Regions from separate parts of the Homo sapiens genome. Here all the other regions are linked to region 4. Evidence: promoter capture Hi-C in 16 types of primary human blood cells and fetal thymus (Javierre and others, 2016). All regions are on one chromosome and are shown on one strand. Each heading gives the region's core, a stretch centred on a gene start or on the middle of the fragment in contact. The rest is flanking DNA. Distances are from core to core; before and after follow the strand shown. Region 1 has its middle 14 kb from the start of LINC01729. Region 2 overlaps MCM8 (minichromosome maintenance 8 homologous recombination repair factor). Region 3 overlaps MCM8 (minichromosome maintenance 8 homologous recombination repair factor). Region 4 holds the start of SHLD1 (shieldin complex subunit 1). Region 5 overlaps GPCPD1 (glycerophosphocholine phosphodiesterase 1). Region 6 overlaps GPCPD1 (glycerophosphocholine phosphodiesterase 1).

Region 1 (2,700 bases), core at 201-2,700, 230 kb before region 4:
ACTGTGCATGCAGACCCTCCCAAGTGCTGGTAGGCCACTCTGCATGGGGATATCCCACCCCAAGGGAAGAATAAGGGAAAGAGAGACACAACCCTCCAGAATCATGCCAATGTACAAAACCCCAAGTCAAAGGGCAATCTCTCAAGTTTCCTGCTTGGCCCTTTTCCAAGTGTACTTTACTTCCTTTCATCCCGCTCTAAAACTTTTTAATAGACTTTCACTCCTGCTCTAAAACTTGCCTTGGTTGCTCACTCTGCCTTCTGCCACTCAGATGAATTCCTTCCATCAAGGAGGCAGGAATTTAGTTGCTGCAGATCCATATGGATTCACCGCTGGTAACAGCATCATGAAAGATAGTCATTTTGATGGAGGAGGAAGGAGAGATGTATTCCTATCAATAGCCCTACAGTTACCAGTCACTGAGTAAAAAGTGAAGAGTTAATATTAATGCAAGAATCCAAAGTATTTGCAAGGAAGTAGAATAGGAGGAACCTGTTTTCACTGGGATGGGGGTGGCGGGCAAATGTCCAAATTAGTATGGCCACTTTGGAAAACAGTTTGGCCTTATCCAATAAAGTTGAACATGCAACTCTTGCCCTGCAATTCCACTACTACATAGCACTTTGCGCATGTGTCCTGGAAGACAGGTAAATATTGATCAAGGCAGCAAAACTGAAAGCAATCCAAATGTACATTAACAGAAGAATGGAGAAATGATATGCGCTACAGCCACTACAGTGGAATACTGCACAGGCTCCATGCTCCAACATGCAGAAAAGTCACAAACAAGGTGTGGAGATCCAGAAGAACAGTAGGGCATAAAAAGCTTGCAAAACTATTCCATGTAATCTGTGCAAATACAAAGAATTGAAGCAGACTACAAAGAAAGGCAATTGATTGAAAAACATAAAATTCTGGATAGTGGTTGCCAAGGTGGGTACAGAGAGGTCTGCAAAAATAATCACAGAAGTTTGTTTCTGGAGCTGAGCAATGGCTACACTGGGATGAGTTCTGGAGTTAGTTCTCTTTCTGCATAACATATATGTGTTTATATGTACTTTCATGTTGGCTACTGTATTTCTTTTTTTTTTTAGAGACAAGGTTTTTCTCTCCATCGCCCAGGCTGGAGTGCAGTGGTGCTATCACAATTCACTGCAGCGTTGACCTTCCGGACCCAAGTGATCCTCTCACCTCAACATTCCAAGTAGCTGGTACCACAGGTATGTGCCACCATACGCGACTCATTTCAATTTTTTTTTTTTTTTTTTTTGAGACAGAGTCTCACTCTGTTGCCCAGGCTGGAGTGCAATGGCATGATCTCAGCTCACTGCAACCTCCACCTCCCAGGTTCAAGTAATTCTCCTGCCTCAGCCTCCTGAGTAGCTGGGATTACAGGTGCGTGCCACCACGACCAGCTAATTTTTGTATTTTTTAGTAGAGACAGGTTTTCACCATGTTGATCATGCTGGTCTTGAACTCCTGACCTTGTGATCCGCCTGCCTTGGTCTTCCAAAATGCTGGGATTACAGGCGTGAGCCATCGCACCTGGCCTAATTTTTGTATTGTTAATAGAGATGGGGTTTCACCATGTTGGCCAGGCTTGACTCGAACTCTTGGCCTCAAGTGATCCATTTGCCTTGGCCTCCCAAAGCGCTGGGATTACAGGCATGAGCCACCATGCCCAGCCTCATTTTTTTTTAACCTTTATTTTGTAGAGACAGGGTCTCCCTATGTTGCCCAGGCTGGTCTCAAACTTTTGGGCTCAAGTGATCCTCCTGCTTCAGTCTCCTGAATAGCTAGGACTCCAGGCATGCACCACCATAACTGGCTACTTTTATTTTTTGGAGAGATGAGGGTCTTGCTCTATTGCCCAGGCTGTTCTCAAACTCCTGGTCTCAAGTAATCCTCCTGCCTCGGCCTCCCAAAGTACTGGGATTACAGGTGTAAGCCACTTCTCCCAGTCCTATATTTTATTTTTTTTTTAATGGAGAAAAAAACTCACAGACAGAGACCTTGGCTTCCCATGATAATTCATCAGAACCTGGACCACAGTGCTTCTTCATCTTTCTCTAGACAAGCTTTCTGCTAAAATCAACTTAGGAAAAACTTGCCACATTCAGACATAAAAGTTAGCAAGAAAGAATGACCTGGAGAGAAGTACAAAAATCATACAAAAAGAAGAATTGAAAAGAAAAGAAAAAGCAAAGCAAGGCTTATGGAGAACATTCACCAGAAAAGCACTGCCATAGCCTTGACAACATGGCAAAACCCCATCTCTACAGAAAATACAAAAATTAGCCAGGTGTAGTGGTGCATGCCTGTGGTCCCAGCTACTCGGGAGGCCTGAGCCCAGGAGGCAGAGGTTGCAGTCAGCCAAGATCATGCCACTGTGCTCCAGCCTGGGGCAACAGAGCAAGACCCTGTCAAAAAAAAAAAGAAAAAAGAAAAGAAAAGAAAGAGAGGAAGGGAGGGAGGAAAGAAGGAAGGAAGGAAGGAAGGAAGGAAGGAAGGAAGGAAGGAAGGAAGGAAAAGCATTGCCTTAGAGCAAAGACAACTGTGACCCGAATTGTTGCAACAAATTATGATGTAATAATCCTGAGATCTAGCCACTTACAGAACAGAAGGGAAGACAGCAGGCTGCCTTGAAATCGAGCTGGCAGATGTGGGTCATTGGGGGATGGGTATAATATGAGAGAAGCT
Region 2 (2,811 bases), core at 128-2,627, 200 kb after region 4:
TAGAGGCAGAGGATTTGGACGAGGAAGATTTCAAAGCTGGAAAAGGGGAAGAGGTGGTGGGAACTTCTCAGGAAAATGGAGAGAAAGAGAACACAGACCTGATCTGAGTAAAACCACAGGAAAACGTACTTCTGGTAGGTGAGGTCAATGATTGTTCAATTTTTTTCACTTAAGGAAGCAATTCACGTCTATCATACAAGGCGGTTTATCTCATACTTCAGTTTGTCTTTTATTTCATGCTACTCCTTAGTAAGTATTTGAACATTGATGTCCCAGATTTTTACTAAAACCCCTAATTTGGATACTCTATTAATGAGAGTCTCATTTGGAAAGAGAAGCATATTGGAAAAATGTTCACTCTGTTTCTACTAACCTAGTATTTTATTTTTTTCAGAACAAACCCCACAGTTTTTGCTTTCAACAAAGACCCCACAGTCAATGCAGTCAACATTGGATCGATTCATACCATATAAAGGCTGGAAGCTTTATTTCTCTGAAGGTAGGGTTTAAAAAGTACAAAAAAGCACCATAAATCATATTTTCTTAACTTGTCTTTGGATGCTACATCTTGTATTACTGTAATTCATTTACTAACATATACCTGCTTTAATCTTAGTTCACCCAAACAATTAAATGATGTTTATGTTTCAAAAGCATTTTAGACTTTATATCAGTCAGGAAAGCAGAAACCATACTAGGTATTTCAAAAAGGGGACTTAATACAAGAAATTGGATACAAAAATGGAAGACTGAAAGAGCAGAAAGGAAATATTGAGGTAACTCCCCAGAAAGTAGTAATTCAGGAAGCAGCAACCATCCTTATGGCTAAGAGACTAAAAGAAGTTCTGAGGTTACCAGAATGTGGGAATTCAAAGGTTGGAGAGGTCACAGCATAGCTGTTATTTTGACTTTTGAGGGGCACCCTACAAAGCTATGCTTGGACTTCTGAAGGCTACCTTACAGAGCTGTGCTTAGACCACTAAGGCAAATGAAGCTGGTTGCCACTGGTAACTGAGGGGGCATGACTCAGTGGTGCTTGGAACTGGAGGCTAGCACTATCGTTATCTTCTGCAGCTGCAGAGATGCTGAAAAGAGTTGGAAACAAGAATAAATTCCTTTCTCTTCCTGCCACCTTCCCGTCTCTAAAGTGCCTTCAATTGGCAGAATTTAAAGAGAATCTGAGACATGTAGGGTACAGATCTGAATTATAGCATCGCAGAGCAGGAAGTAGAACAGTGGGCCTGAAATCAAGGGACAATAACAAATACAGCTTTGTGTAGAAACACAGGTAAGGAATCTCCCTTTGATAATTAGGAATACCAATTAACCTACATCAGTCTGTATAGGTGCAGGGAACTGTCTTTTTTGTGCTGTTAAAATACCCATTTGTTTCTTATGTCTCATGAGGGGTGTGTGTGTGTGTGTGTGTGTGTGTGTGTGTGCATACTTTTTATTTTTTTTTGAGATGGAGTCTTGCTCTGTTGCCCAGGCTGAAGTGCAGTGGCGCGATCTTGGCTCACTGCAAGCTCTGCCTCCCAGGTTCACGCCATTCTCCTGCCTCAGCCTCCCGAGTAGCTGGGACTACAGGCACCCGCCACCACGCCCGGCTAATTTTTTCTGTTTTTAGTAGAGACGGGGTTTCACCGTGTTAGCTAGGATGGTCTTGATCTCCTGACCTCGTTATCCGCCCGCCTCGGCCTCCCAAAGTGCTAGGATTCCAGACGTGAGCCACCGCACCCAGCCGCATACTTTTTTTTTTTAGGAAAACTAGACGTTTGAGGTCCAGGACCCTCCCTGCCCCATACCAGGCATGCAGTAGTCATTTTGTGAATGAATAGAGTACTTTACAAATGTTTTCTTTATTGGAAATCTGTTCGTTTTTTTCCATCAATAGAATCTGTTTCATGAATGATCTTTTGTTCCTTTAGGATGTATTAGCCACCAGCACTCCCATTGCTCCCCTAGCAGATAGCTCAGAACACTATAAGTGATCTTTGGACAGTCCTAAAGATGGAGTTCAAGAGGTGCCTTAGCCTTCACCATCTGTGCTTCCAAACTACTTTATTGTACTGTTCTTCTGTGAGAGACATATTTGAAAATGTAGAACTTTAGAGTGTTAAAAAAAAAAAGGCTTTTCAGTTTTGCCACCAGGGTCAAGTGTTGGTCTGTCTCCTGATCTCAGGAAAGACTGTGATTGTGATTGTCTTCAGCTCTGTCAGAGTAAGAGCTTAGTTTATGTGTCTGGCTTTGGCTTTATTATAATTTTTAGTTTAAGCTTATTGTCTAAATTATCTGAACTAACATGTCCTATTAGGTGTCAAAGATGCAAAACAAAGTTTCCCAGATAGTGGGGCTTTTAGAGAGAGAGAGTTTCTGTCTGCATTTCACATTATGCAAACCTAAATTTGTTTTAGAATCTTAAGTTTACATTCTATACTAGTTCTTATATGAATGTAATCAAAATACAAAGCAATTAGAAAAAAATCATCTACCATGTATATAGTGCTGCTTTTGTCTCATGAAAAATGTGCATGTACCTGTGTGATTATTTGTGCTAATGCCATATTTGTTGGATTAGTTTACAGCGATAGCTCTCCTTTGATTGAGAAGATTCAAGCATTTGAAAAATTTTTCACAAGGCATATTGATTTGTATGACAAGGTAAGATTCCTCTACAGCAAAGCTACCAGTCATGTGCCATCTTACCAATGTATTCGAGGTACTTGTGATTATGATCGTAGGCACTGGAGTCAGACTTCCTTGGTTCAGACCTCAGTTCTGCCACTTACCTGCAGTATGGACTTTGATTAA
Region 3 (2,974 bases), core at 347-2,846, 250 kb after region 4:
TAAAGTGGTAGACAGAAGAGAAAATATACTAATTTATTGTTCAAAGAGGAAAATAAGTCTCAAAGGTTAAGGCTATTATATAAATTTATTTTTAAAAAGACATAAACCTACATTTTCAGAAGAAGAAGTTCCATGTTTCCTTAGATTATGTATTTAGCATCCATTAATCACAGGGCCAAACTAACAACAAAAGTTGTTTAGCTTTCCCTTACAATCCAGCTTTTATGGGTGTGCAAACATCACATTACAGTCCCTCCAACCACAAACCCCAACATATAGTATTTCACTTCCTGCCCAATAGTGGGTGTCCCCACACCTTTCAACCACTGTAGCAACAAAGCTCTGGCCTAGGCTTTTCACTTGCTTCTTTACTGCCTGACTGACTTTGGTGTTTCCTCATGTGGCCTGGTGTGGCATGGCACGCCCTCTTGGGAGATGAAAGTAATCTTCCATAGGCAATTGTTTCTGTGTCACCATTGCTGATTAAAACAAATCCTAAGTACAAATGTCAGAACAGAAACATGCAAAGCAAGAAAACATTACATCATGAAAGTTTCTTTTTTTTTCTTTTTTCTTTTTTTTTTTTTTTTGAGACAGAGTTTTGCTCTTTTTGCTCAGGCTGGAGTACAGTGGCGCGATCTTGGTTCACCGCAACCTCCGCCTCCTGGGTTCAAGCGTTTCTCCTGCCTCAGCCTCCCAAGTAGCTGGGATTATAGGCATGTGCCACCATGGCTAATTTTGTATTTTTAGTAGAGACGGGGTTTCTCCATGTTGGTGAGGCTGGTTTTTAACTCCCGAACTCAGGTGATTGCCTGCCTCGGTCTCCCAAAAAGTGCCGGGATTACAGGCGTGAGCCATTGTGCCCAGCCAAAAGTTTCTTTTTCAAGAGATGGTGGTCTTGCCATGTTGTCCAGTATGGACTTGAACTACTCAGCTCAAGCAGTCCTCCCACCTCAGCCTCCTGAATAGCTGAGACTACAGGCATGCACCACTACACCTGGCTGCGAGATGAAATTTTAAGAGATGGGGGTCTTGTTCTGTCGCCCAGGCTGGAGTGCAGTGACATGATCAAGCCGTGATCTCCTGGGCTCAAGCAATCCTCCTACCTCAGCCTCCTGAGTAGCTGGAACTACAGGAATGCAACACCATGCCCAGCTAATTTTGATTTTTAGTAGAGATGAGGTCTTCCTTTGTTGCCCAAGCTGGTCTCAAACTCCAGGGCTTCCTGAGTAGCTGAGACTACAGGTGTGAGCCACCATGCCCAGCCTCCTCTCTTTTCCAATATTGTGTTAAGTAAATTGTATTGGTGGTAATCAACTTGATCATTTCATTTTTAGGATAGAGATATCAAGGTGAGGGTATAACTGAACGAGAAGAGGAATAAACACCACCCTGTGATTGATGGATCTTTATAGCTCTCCTTTGATAAAGAAGGGAAATATCGTACTTACATTAGCATGTTATAGTTGCTGTTGTTATACAGAAGAATATTAAACAATATTCATATATTGTTTATGAATGCATTGAATTCATAAACAATGGTATGGATATTGACTAGCCAAAGAGGTGGATAAATGTAGATACAATGATACGGTGATTTGGTATTCAGTGTCCATTCTGCTCTCCTAGTGTGCCTTCCTATAATGCAGGGGCTGGAAGGTGAGAAAATAACCACATTTCCCAGACTCCCTTTGCAGGTAGATTTCCAGATGTGAATTGGGTTCCACTGATCAGACACCCATGTGTGAGATTTGGAATGCAGAACTGAGGAGAGAGCCATCTTCCTCTTGCTTGTGTTCTGGTGGCATGTGTGGTTGAGGAGACATTTAATTTCCCTGCAGCAGAATTCTTGCAGTCAGTTGTTGAGGCAAGTGGCGTGGTGGATGCAACCCTGATTCTTCACCTTTCTCATTATTGTGGGGTAGCAGCGCCTCTGGCAAGCCAGACAGACCTGCAGTGTTTTTCTGGGAGTTAATTCTGGAGACCCAGTATGGAACCCACTCCTAGCCCTTGTGACAATATTGCAAGCATCCAGTTCCCTGTTTTACAGTCCTTTTAAATGTGGCTAGCTACAGTAGTTTGTGTTTCCTGCAACTAATCACTCATACATCTGTATCTAAAGCACTCCACCTGGGTCATGTACTATACTTAAAATTATAAGGCAATATTAATTCACAAAACTACCTACTCGTTTTATTTAACCCTCAGAAGAACTGAAAACAAAAGCTATACCAGGCTTGCTCTAGAGCGTGGGCTTGGGAATGGAAAGGCAGAGTGCACCTATTGAATTCCATCATCAGTTTTTCTATACCATGGAGTTACTTACCATGTGTATACATAACACTGATTAAAAATTTTAAAAAAAAGGTTAAAACAAAAACTGAGCCAGATTCTGACATTTAAATCAGAATTATTCTTAGTACATAGACTTGCAAAGTCACTGAATAATTCCTTGGGACTACAGACTCTTAGTCTTTGCTTCTAGAAATGTATAGTAATTTCAACATGTCATATATATAGAGAGAGTATATATGTGTATATATATACACACACACACACACTATATAGAGTATATATATACACTCCATATACAGTATATATACTAGTGTGTATATATATATACACTAGAGTATACACACTCTAGAGTATACACTCTATAAAGTATATATATTATATATACTATATATTATATATACTATATACTCTACAGTATATATATACACTATAGAGTGTATATATATACTATACAGATATGTATAGAGTATATATACTCTATATATACACTATATATAGTCTATATACTCTAGAGAGTACAGTATATATATATAGTGTATATATACTCTATGGAGTGTATATATATTCTCTTTCTCTCCATATATATATATATAGTAATCAGCTTCCTCAGGTTGAAACATCTAGATATATTGAAAACACTGGATAGTCTGCAAACTCCTCTTCCTTAGAGAATGTATAT
Region 4 (2,700 bases), core at 72-2,571:
ATTCAAGTTTATTTATTTATTTATTAAAACCATTTTGTAGGCCGGGCACGGTGGCTCACGCCTGTAATCCCAGCACTTTGGGAGGCCCAGGCAGGCGGATCACGAGGCCAGGAGATCGAGACCATCCTGGCTAACACGGTGAAACCCCGTCTCTACTAAAAATACAAAAAATTAGCCGGGCGTGGTAGCGGGCGCCTGTAGTCCCAGCTACTTGGGAGGCTGAGGCAGGAGAATGGCGTGAACCCGGGAGGCGGAGCTTGCAGTGAGCCGAGATGGCGCCACCGCACTCCAGCCTGGGCAACAGAGCGAGACTCCGTCTCAAAAAAAAAAAAACAAAACCATTTTGTAGAGACAAGGTCTCCACTGTGTTGCCCAGGTGGGTCTTGAACTCCTTGCCTCAAGTAATCCTCCCATCTTGGCCTCCCAAAGCAGTGGGATTACAGGGGCATGCCACCCCACCCTCTCCAAGACATTGAATTTTATTTATTTTTTTTTTTGAGACGGAGTTTCGCTCTCGTTGCCCAGGCTGGAGTGCAATGGCACGATCTTGGCTCACCACAACCTCCACCTTCTGGGTTCAAGCGATTCTCCTGCCTTAGTCTCCCGGGTAGCTGCGATTACAGGCTGCACCACCACACCCAGCTAATTTTGTATTTTTAGTAGAGACAGGGTTTCTCTGTTGGTAAGGCTGGTCTCGAACTCCCGACCTCAGGTGATCCTCCTGCCTCGGCCTACCAAAGTGCTGGGATTACAGGCGTGAGCCACTGAGCCCAGACGAATTTTTTTTTTTAAAAGGCAAGGTCTAGCTCTGTTGCCCAGGCTGGACTGCAGTGGCAAGAACATGGCCAACTGCAGCCTTGACCTCTCAGGCTCAAGCAATTCTCCCACCTCAGCCCCCCAACTACCTGGGCCTACAGACATGTGCCACCATGCCTCGCTAATTAAAAAAAAATTTTTTTTGTAGAGACAGTGTCTCCCTATGTTGCCCAGGCTGGTCTCAAACTCCTGGCCTCAAGTGATCCGTCTCAGCCTCCCAAAGTGCTGGGACTACAGGCGTAAGCCACCGCTCCCGGCCAACATTTAAATTTTTGAATATTTTTTCTGTTCCCTTAGGGTTTACCAAGCACATTTATCGACAAGCCTCCTCAGGAAATTGCCCAAAATAGCCACATGTGGCAAGCCTCATTGACAGGCCAAAAGCCTCAGTCAACATGGCCGCGACCGGCTTCCATTGCCCTTCACTGCCCGCAGTAAGGATGGCTCCGGTGACTTCCTTCGAACCTCACATTTCCCATAAAAAAGATGGCGCCATTGCTTCCGCGTTCCGGTTGCGGATGGTGAGTGTGTCGGGGGGCTTGGCGGCTTTTCTCCTCAGTTTTCTGGAGTGCTTTGGAGGAGAGGTAAGCGCGGGATGGGATGGGGGGGGGTTGGAGTGGTGGGGGCGGGGGTCACAGCAATGCATCTGATCGTTCTCTCTCAATTAGGAAGTTATGGAGGCTTTCCTAGGCATGTCAGGATTTCCTGCTAGCTCCCCGCCCCTTCCGCCCCAACACACGGTGTCTGCAGCCTGTGCTTTGGGGAATTTTGGGAATTTGTGGATAGTGAGTATGGATAAGCTTCGGTTTTGTTGTTTTTTTTTAAATTTTTTCAGTGACCTGCCACTTCAGGAGGTTCTGCTAAAAAACCAACAAACAAAAAAACAGCTTTCTTGGGAAATTTCTATTCACCTACTAAGTAAAATTTGCCCATTTAAAGCGTAAAAAAAAATCAAGCCTAGCATAGTGGCATTCGCCTGTAGTTCCAGCTGCTCAGGAGACTGAGGTGGGAGAATCGCTTGTGCCCCGGAGTTCCAGGCTGCAGTGAGCCCAGATCGCGCCACTGCACTCCAGCCTGGAAGACAGAGCAAGACAACGTACCCAAAAATAAATAATAAAGGGTAACATTAAGGGTTTTTTTGTTGTTGTTGACAGAATTGTGCATCTATTACTGTGATCTCATTTTAGAATACTTTCATCACTCCAAAGAAAAATCCTGCCTCCAGTAGCAGTCATTCTACATTCACCACGTCCACTCCGCCTCAAGTCCTAGACAATTGCTAGTATACTTTCTGTCTGTATAGCCTTGCCAATTCGCACGTTTGATATAAATGAAATCATACAGTGCAGCTGGCTTCTTTCATTAAGTATAATGTCAATGTTTTTGTGACTAGCTTCTTTCATGACTTTTGTTCTTTTTTTAAACGGAGTCTCATGACTCTCACTCTGTAGCCCAGGCTGGAGTATAGTGGCACGATCTTGGCTCACTGCAACCTCTGCTGCCCAGGTTCAAGCTAGTCTCCTGCCTGAGCCTCCCGAGTAGCTGGGACTACAGGCGCCTGCCACCACGTTCGACTAATTTTTGTATTTTTAGTAGAGACGAGGTTTCACCATCTTGGCCAGGCTGGTCTTGAACTCCTCAGCTCTTGATCAACCTGCCTCAGCCTCTCAAAGTGCTGAGATTACAGGTGTGAGCCACCACGCCCGGCTATCTTCTTATACTATGTATAATATTTTCAAAGCTTGTCTTTGTATCATGTGTCAGACTGTTAGCAAATAAATAAAACTCTGTAAACTATTTTAAAGCGGTTTATTCTGAGCCAGTATGATTGACCATCGCCCAGAGAGAAAACACAAACCCAAAAAGTCTTTAGTAAGTGATCCC
Region 5 (2,826 bases), core at 228-2,727, 190 kb before region 4:
ATGTTTTAAGTATTAGTCACTGAAATAATTCTAGAAGCTCAGAAAACTAAAAATCACATTATTAGGGAAACCTTAGTCGAGAATTCACTACATTAATGAGGACCAGCTTGTCACAAACAGCATAATGAGGGCAATTACAGATTATTCTGACCAAAACAAATTCAAGGGTATTGCTCAATGCCCAATCATGACATCTGAATTAACTACTTTCAACACCCCACACTCTACTACCCCAAGCCCCTTGCAATGCATCCCATCAATCTGCACATATTCTCTCTGATATATTCAATAGTTAGCTAATTGTTTTCCACAACTGAAATATAAGTCCCAGGAAGACAAGGCCTTATTCTCTTTTGTGGACTACTTGTCCCGAGCACTTGGAAAATGCCTGGTCCATAGCAGCTTTTCAAAAAATATTTGTTGAACAAAAAAATGACTAAATTTGTAAGTGATTTAAAACAATTGCAGAAATTTTTTTCCTGAATAATTATTACTAGCTACTGTTAACAACAGAAAACTGCTTAGAAAATTATTTAAAACATTCTTATATGGGAATAAGAAAGTAAAAACTAAATCCAAGAGATGTGACTATCCACTTTATAAGTATCTCCCCAAAACCACCATATTGTTCACACAAGACACATGTAAACTGAAATTTCTACAATATTCATCATTAATTTGAAATACTCACATACTAGCATGAATGCAAGATATGTTTTATTTAAAGGGTCCAATAAGCATTGTGCTTGGTGGAGGAAGCCACAATGAGATTTCAATTTAGCTTATTCCATTAAAATACAAAGACAGGAATGAAAGAATTTTTTAGATAGGCATAGAGAGTATAGAATGTGCTGCATAGAGAATTACTTACCCTTTGCTGGCAGATCCATTTTATTTCAATGTTAAACCCTACATCTTCTGGCAAAGACTCTAAAACCTACAGTTTTGTTTGTTGGTAAATTTTGTTTTTGATGAGATGGATAGCAGAATAAGAAAACAAAAAAAATACAATTATTACTAAAAATAATAAGAATTTATCATTAGTAGCAATAAAATGTTTTGTGCATAATGCACAAACATATTTTGTCATACTCAAAGTGACAACCTGGTAGATGATTATGTTAAATAAGGTCAAAAGAAATTAAGCAGCAAAAGCAGGAGTCTCAGGCACTGTCTGTGATAACTGACAAACACAAAGATGGTCCTTAACCTCAAATCCTTTTCGCCATTACTAGTAAACATCCAAAGTGAACTCTAACACAATAGGCAACATCATGAATTCAAGACATTTGTCATGTATTCTACACTGCATTTGGGGATGTCAATCTACTTGCCTAAAATCTATGAAAAACCATGATGTTTAGATTGTTTTGAAGGTGATGATGCTAAACAAATCCCATAACTTCCTGAAAAGATGTATCCCCAAAATGAAAACATTATGCTACAGCTCATAAATCAAAAAAGTTATAATTTATATAAATGACAAATGCTATCAGTGTATCTAAACTAAATTATCTAGACACTTTGCCATCAGATTATTTTGGCAGTTTTAACTAGAAAATGACATTGAAAATATGAAACTTGGTTAGTAACCTCCAAAGAACGGACTTGTTCAGTCTTAAACAAACATGAAGCCCAGACATATACATAAATATGCTCAGGGCAAAATGAATTTGACAGAGATTATGTTATATTATTATTATTTTTGAGGCATAGTCTCACTCTGTCACCCAGGCTGGAGCACAGTGGCACAATCTCAGTTCACTGCAACCTCCACCTCTGGGGTTCAAGCAATTCTCCTGCCTCAGCCTCCCAAGTAGCTGGGATTACAGGTGCCTGCCACCACGCCTGGCTAATTTTTTGTATTTTAGTAGTGATGGGTTTCACCATGTTGACTAGGCCAGTCTGAAACTCCTGACCTCAGGTGATCCACCTGCCTTGGCCTCCAGAAGTGCTGGGATTACAGGCGTGAGCCACTGTGCCCGGCAGATTATTTTAGATACTTCAAAATTTTAGGTATCAAAGAACATGTATAGCACATATGGTATTTAATTTTTAACAGCAAATAAATGCATACAAACAGAATAATATAGTGGTAAGAACACAGCCCAGGAGTCTGGTGACCTGGCATCTAGCTCTGGGCCTACTCTTAACCAGCTGCATGTAAAGTACAGCATCTAAAACAGTTTGTATTCAATTTTGTGTGGGACTTTTTTAATTTTCTCCTATATCTAAAGACTTATTTAACGTATCTGTCATATTTTTGCTGGACTAATGCAAAATGAGAAAGACTAGGACAATATATTAGTGTTGAGATTGCTAAAAGGCAAATTTGCCAGAAAAGTGTCTATATAATGAGATTATATTTGGTATTATTTTGGCGTTAAAATTTCTTTTTTTTTTTTTTGAGACGGAGTCTCGCTCTGTCATCCAGGCTGGAGTGCAGTGGCGCGATCTCGGCTCACTGCAAGCTCCGCCTCCTGAGTTCACGCCATTCTGCTGCCTCAGCCTCCCGAGTAGCTGGGACTACAGGCACCCGCCACCACACCAGGCTAATTTTTTATTTTTAATAGAGACGGGGTTTCACATGTTAGCCAGGATGATCTTGATCCCCTGACCTCGTGATCCACCTGCCTCGGCCTCCCAAAGTGCTGGGATTACAGGCGTAAGCCACCACGCCTGGCCAAAATTTCTTTGTGATTGAATTATAATGGCAAAGTGAGTAAATGAGTTTGCGTGTGTGTTTTAACTTATTTGACTAAAAGGCTGTCAAACCTGTATCACAATTTAAAATTTTTTTCCTGGGAATCATGAGATTTCTAAAAC
Region 6 (2,741 bases), core at 67-2,566, 210 kb before region 4:
TCACTGCAACCTCCGCCTTCCAGGTTCAAGCGATTCTCATGCCTTAGCCTCCTAAGTAGCTGGGATTACAGACGCATGCCACCACTAATTTTTGTATTTTTAGTAGAGATGGGATTTTGCCATGTTGGCCAGGCTGGTCTCGAACCCCTGACCTCAAGTGATCCACCCACCTCGGCCTCCCAAAGTGCTGGGATTACAGGCGTGAGCCACCACGCCTGGCCGCTCCAGCATCATTTCTTAAAAAGACCATCCTTCTTTCAATCCTTCATTGAATTGCCTTTGCATGTTTGTCAAAAAGCATTTGGCTGTGCTTGTGTGGATTTTTCTATTCTAGGCCACTGATCTATGTATCTATCCTTCCGCCGGTACCAGTTTTGATTCCTGTAGTTACGTAAGTTTTAAAATCAGGTAGAGTGATTCCTCCCACTTGCTTCTTGCTCAAAATTGTTTTTAGCTATTCTAGTTCCTTTGCCTCTCCAAACAAATTTTAGTTTTTTCACCCAGGCTGGAGTGCAGTGACGTGATCTCGGCTCACTGCAACCTCCACCTTCCAGGATCAAGTGATTCTCCTGCCTCAGCCTCTCGAATAGCTGGGATTACAGGCTCCCGCCACCATGCCCGGCCAATTTTATATTTTTAGTAGAGATGGGGTTTGACCATGTTGGCCAGGCTGGTCTCGAACTCCTGACCTCAGGTGATCAGCCTCCCAAAGTGCTGGGATTACAGGCAGGAGCCACTGCGCCCGGCCCCTGCTATATTCTTAATGTAGCAAATTAGTCCAACACTGATCAGACTCTCAAGCGAACTCTTCTGGCATTTGATAAAGTATCAAGTTATTTTAAAATATTTAAAAGTTATTTTAAAAGTTATTTAAAAATATTGAGCAACTACCCTAACACACATAACATAAAGCTATACTAATCGCATGGATGACTCCCAGGTACCACACACTGAGACAGAACTTGGGAGGAGGTGGAATGGGAGCAGGTTTGGTAGAAGGAAGGAGGAAGGAAGAGCTCTGTTGAGGTATGTTAAGTGCGAGATGCTTATTAGACCTTAAAGTGGAGATGGGGACACAGTTGGATGTATGAATCTAGAACTTATTTGAGAGGTCTGGTCTGCAGAGAGATACATTTAAAACTGTGAGATGCCACCGAACTTTTGCTGAGCTTTTATAGCTTTCTTCCTGTTAAATTAAGTAGTTTGGCTTTGCAAGTAAGCTTCAGAAGTTCACCCATCCTACCCACATTTCTATTTTCATGTTTAAGTAAATTTAGTAGAGGACTAGATAAATTATAGTATCCCTCTTATTATTCCTATACTAATATTACTTTCCTCATTACTTTTAAACACTTGACTTTCATGTCATTTCCCTTCTTAACAGTCATTAACTTTTATCTCCTATACCATGCTAAGCTTCTCTCTGGCATTCACAATATATTCTCCATTGTCAAAATGGCTCCTTCATTCCTCCTGAACACACCACGAATATGACCCTGGCCTCTGACTTTATGCAGACTGCCACCCAAACTGGTTTCACAACTCCCTTGACCTGTACCTCTATCTGTAAGAGCTTGAGAACTCTATGAAGTCTCCACCTGTTCCAGCCTATCATCTCCCCTCCTCATCTCCACATACATTTGCATGGTAGTCTTCATCATATGGTCTCTTGCATTTTAAAAACCTCAAACCTACTTCTCAAGTTGTACAAGCTCACTAACAGGTCATGTTGGAATGAGTTTCCAATCATGAGTGCCAAAATCATGCAGTATTTCCAATACAAATACTTTGCTTTCTACCCCAAAAATACATGATCCAAAACTAAAATGCAAAGGAATAAATCAACTGTATCCAAATCTCAATTAATAGGACTCCATTATCAGCCTAGAGTACCAAGCCAGTAATAATGTGAGAGGCAGAATTTAGTCAGAGGCATAGAGAGCGAGCCTAGGCAGAAAGGGCAATGAGTGTCCACCAGGACTAATGAGGCGACCTGCCCCAGGCCACACAATTCCTATCCAAGGCAGCGCCCTTTTCACTACCAGTCCACCAACTGCGGGACTTAGGTGTGCTGTCCCAGGAAGAGGCAACCAGGCCTGGGGGAAAAACTGTACCTTCTTCTTCCACTTAAATGGAATAACTATCCCTGTATTTCTCCTCAGTCTGCATGGAGCAAAAAATTGGTTTTAGCATAATCCATCAAATACATGACTCCAAGCAACCAGGACAGAGAACTCCATTGGTAAACATACAAACCCATGCAAACACACACACGCATATGTGAGCACACACATACTCCAGACATTATGGCCAAGCATGCCATACAAAACTGTGTTTATCGTGAAACAATCTGAGTTAGGAAACTAGGATTGTTGCCACCACCATTTATTTATCTAGTTCATAACTAAGGATAGAACACTATAGCAGTGCTAGAGATGCAAAGACGTCCCTGCCCTTAAGGGGCTTACAATCTTACTGGAGAATATAACAGGCACATAAGAAGCTGGACTACAAGGAAGCATGAGCTAACAAATGCCAGACTTCGGAAGGCAGCGTAGTTTGAGAACATGGGATTCAGAGTCACAAAACCCACATCCTAGTCCCAACCCAGTATATCAGTTAACCTCTCTGGGTTTTTTCCCAGCTACAACATTAAATAGTAAGACTGAGAGGCTGTCTGCATGTTTCCATCATCATTCAGATCAAAAGCTGAGATGAGCTTTAGGGAGGAGGCTGCACCT

The links. The method cuts DNA at HindIII sites, captures the fragments that hold promoters and counts their contacts. A CHiCAGO score of 5 or more calls a contact.
Region 1: a contact is called between a fragment that was not itself captured here and the fragment with the promoter of SHLD1 in region 4, in 1 of 17 cell types (monocytes). The highest score is 5.1, in monocytes.
Region 2: a contact is called between a fragment that was not itself captured here and the fragment with the promoter of SHLD1 in region 4, in 4 of 17 cell types (naive CD4 T cells, activated CD4 T cells, fetal thymus and 1 more). The highest score is 12.3, in naive CD4 T cells.
Region 3: a contact is called between a fragment that was not itself captured here and the fragment with the promoter of SHLD1 in region 4, in 1 of 17 cell types (naive CD4 T cells). The highest score is 5.6, in naive CD4 T cells.
Region 5: a fragment that was not itself captured here is called in contact with the fragment with the promoter of SHLD1 in region 4 in 9 of 17 cell types (naive CD8 T cells, activated CD4 T cells, naive CD4 T cells and 6 more); the score reaches 11.3 in naive CD8 T cells.
Region 6: a contact is called between a fragment that was not itself captured here and the fragment with the promoter of SHLD1 in region 4, in 10 of 17 cell types (activated CD4 T cells, monocytes, total CD8 T cells and 7 more). The highest score is 8.9, in activated CD4 T cells.

Annotation. Positions count from the first base shown.
Region 1 is chr20:5,522,469-5,525,168 of GRCh38, forward strand. No RefSeq gene overlaps it. Among named protein-coding and RNA genes, the nearest start is that of LINC01729, 14 kb to the left of the region's middle. The HindIII fragment of the contact is 1,252 bases long and covers 825-2,076 here.
Region 2 is chr20:5,952,030-5,954,840 of GRCh38, forward strand. MCM8 (minichromosome maintenance 8 homologous recombination repair factor) reads left to right here. Exons shown (of 19, transcript NM_032485.6): 2 at 1-134; 3 at 395-499; 4 at 2,579-2,661. Among named protein-coding and RNA genes, the nearest start is that of MCM8, 2.8 kb to the left of the region's middle. The HindIII fragment of the contact is 1,792 bases long and covers 482-2,273 here.
Region 3 is chr20:5,996,612-5,999,585 of GRCh38, forward strand. MCM8 (minichromosome maintenance 8 homologous recombination repair factor) reads left to right here. Exons shown (of 19, transcript NM_032485.6): 19 at 1-2,366. The region is part of intron 3 of MCM8-AS1 (MCM8 antisense RNA 1); the gene reads right to left. Among named protein-coding and RNA genes, the nearest start is that of MCM8-AS1, 7.7 kb to the right of the region's middle. The HindIII fragment of the contact is 5,698 bases long and covers 1-2,974 here.
Region 4 is chr20:5,749,080-5,751,779 of GRCh38, forward strand. SHLD1 (shieldin complex subunit 1) reads left to right here and starts at 1,322. Exons shown (of 3, transcript NM_152504.4): 1 at 1,322-1,400. RefSeq lists an enhancer at 1,148-1,197. The HindIII fragment of the contact is 6,647 bases long and covers 1-1,614 here.
Region 5 is chr20:5,560,594-5,563,419 of GRCh38, forward strand. GPCPD1 (glycerophosphocholine phosphodiesterase 1) reads right to left here. Exons shown (of 20, transcript NM_019593.5): 16 at 872-937. Among named protein-coding and RNA genes, the nearest start is that of GPCPD1, 49 kb to the right of the region's middle. The HindIII fragment of the contact is 8,610 bases long and covers 1-2,826 here.
Region 6 is chr20:5,542,070-5,544,810 of GRCh38, forward strand. GPCPD1 (glycerophosphocholine phosphodiesterase 1) reads right to left here. Exons shown (of 20, transcript NM_019593.5): 20 at 2,370-2,741. Among named protein-coding and RNA genes, the nearest start is that of LINC01729, 33 kb to the left of the region's middle. The HindIII fragment of the contact is 196 bases long and covers 1,219-1,414 here.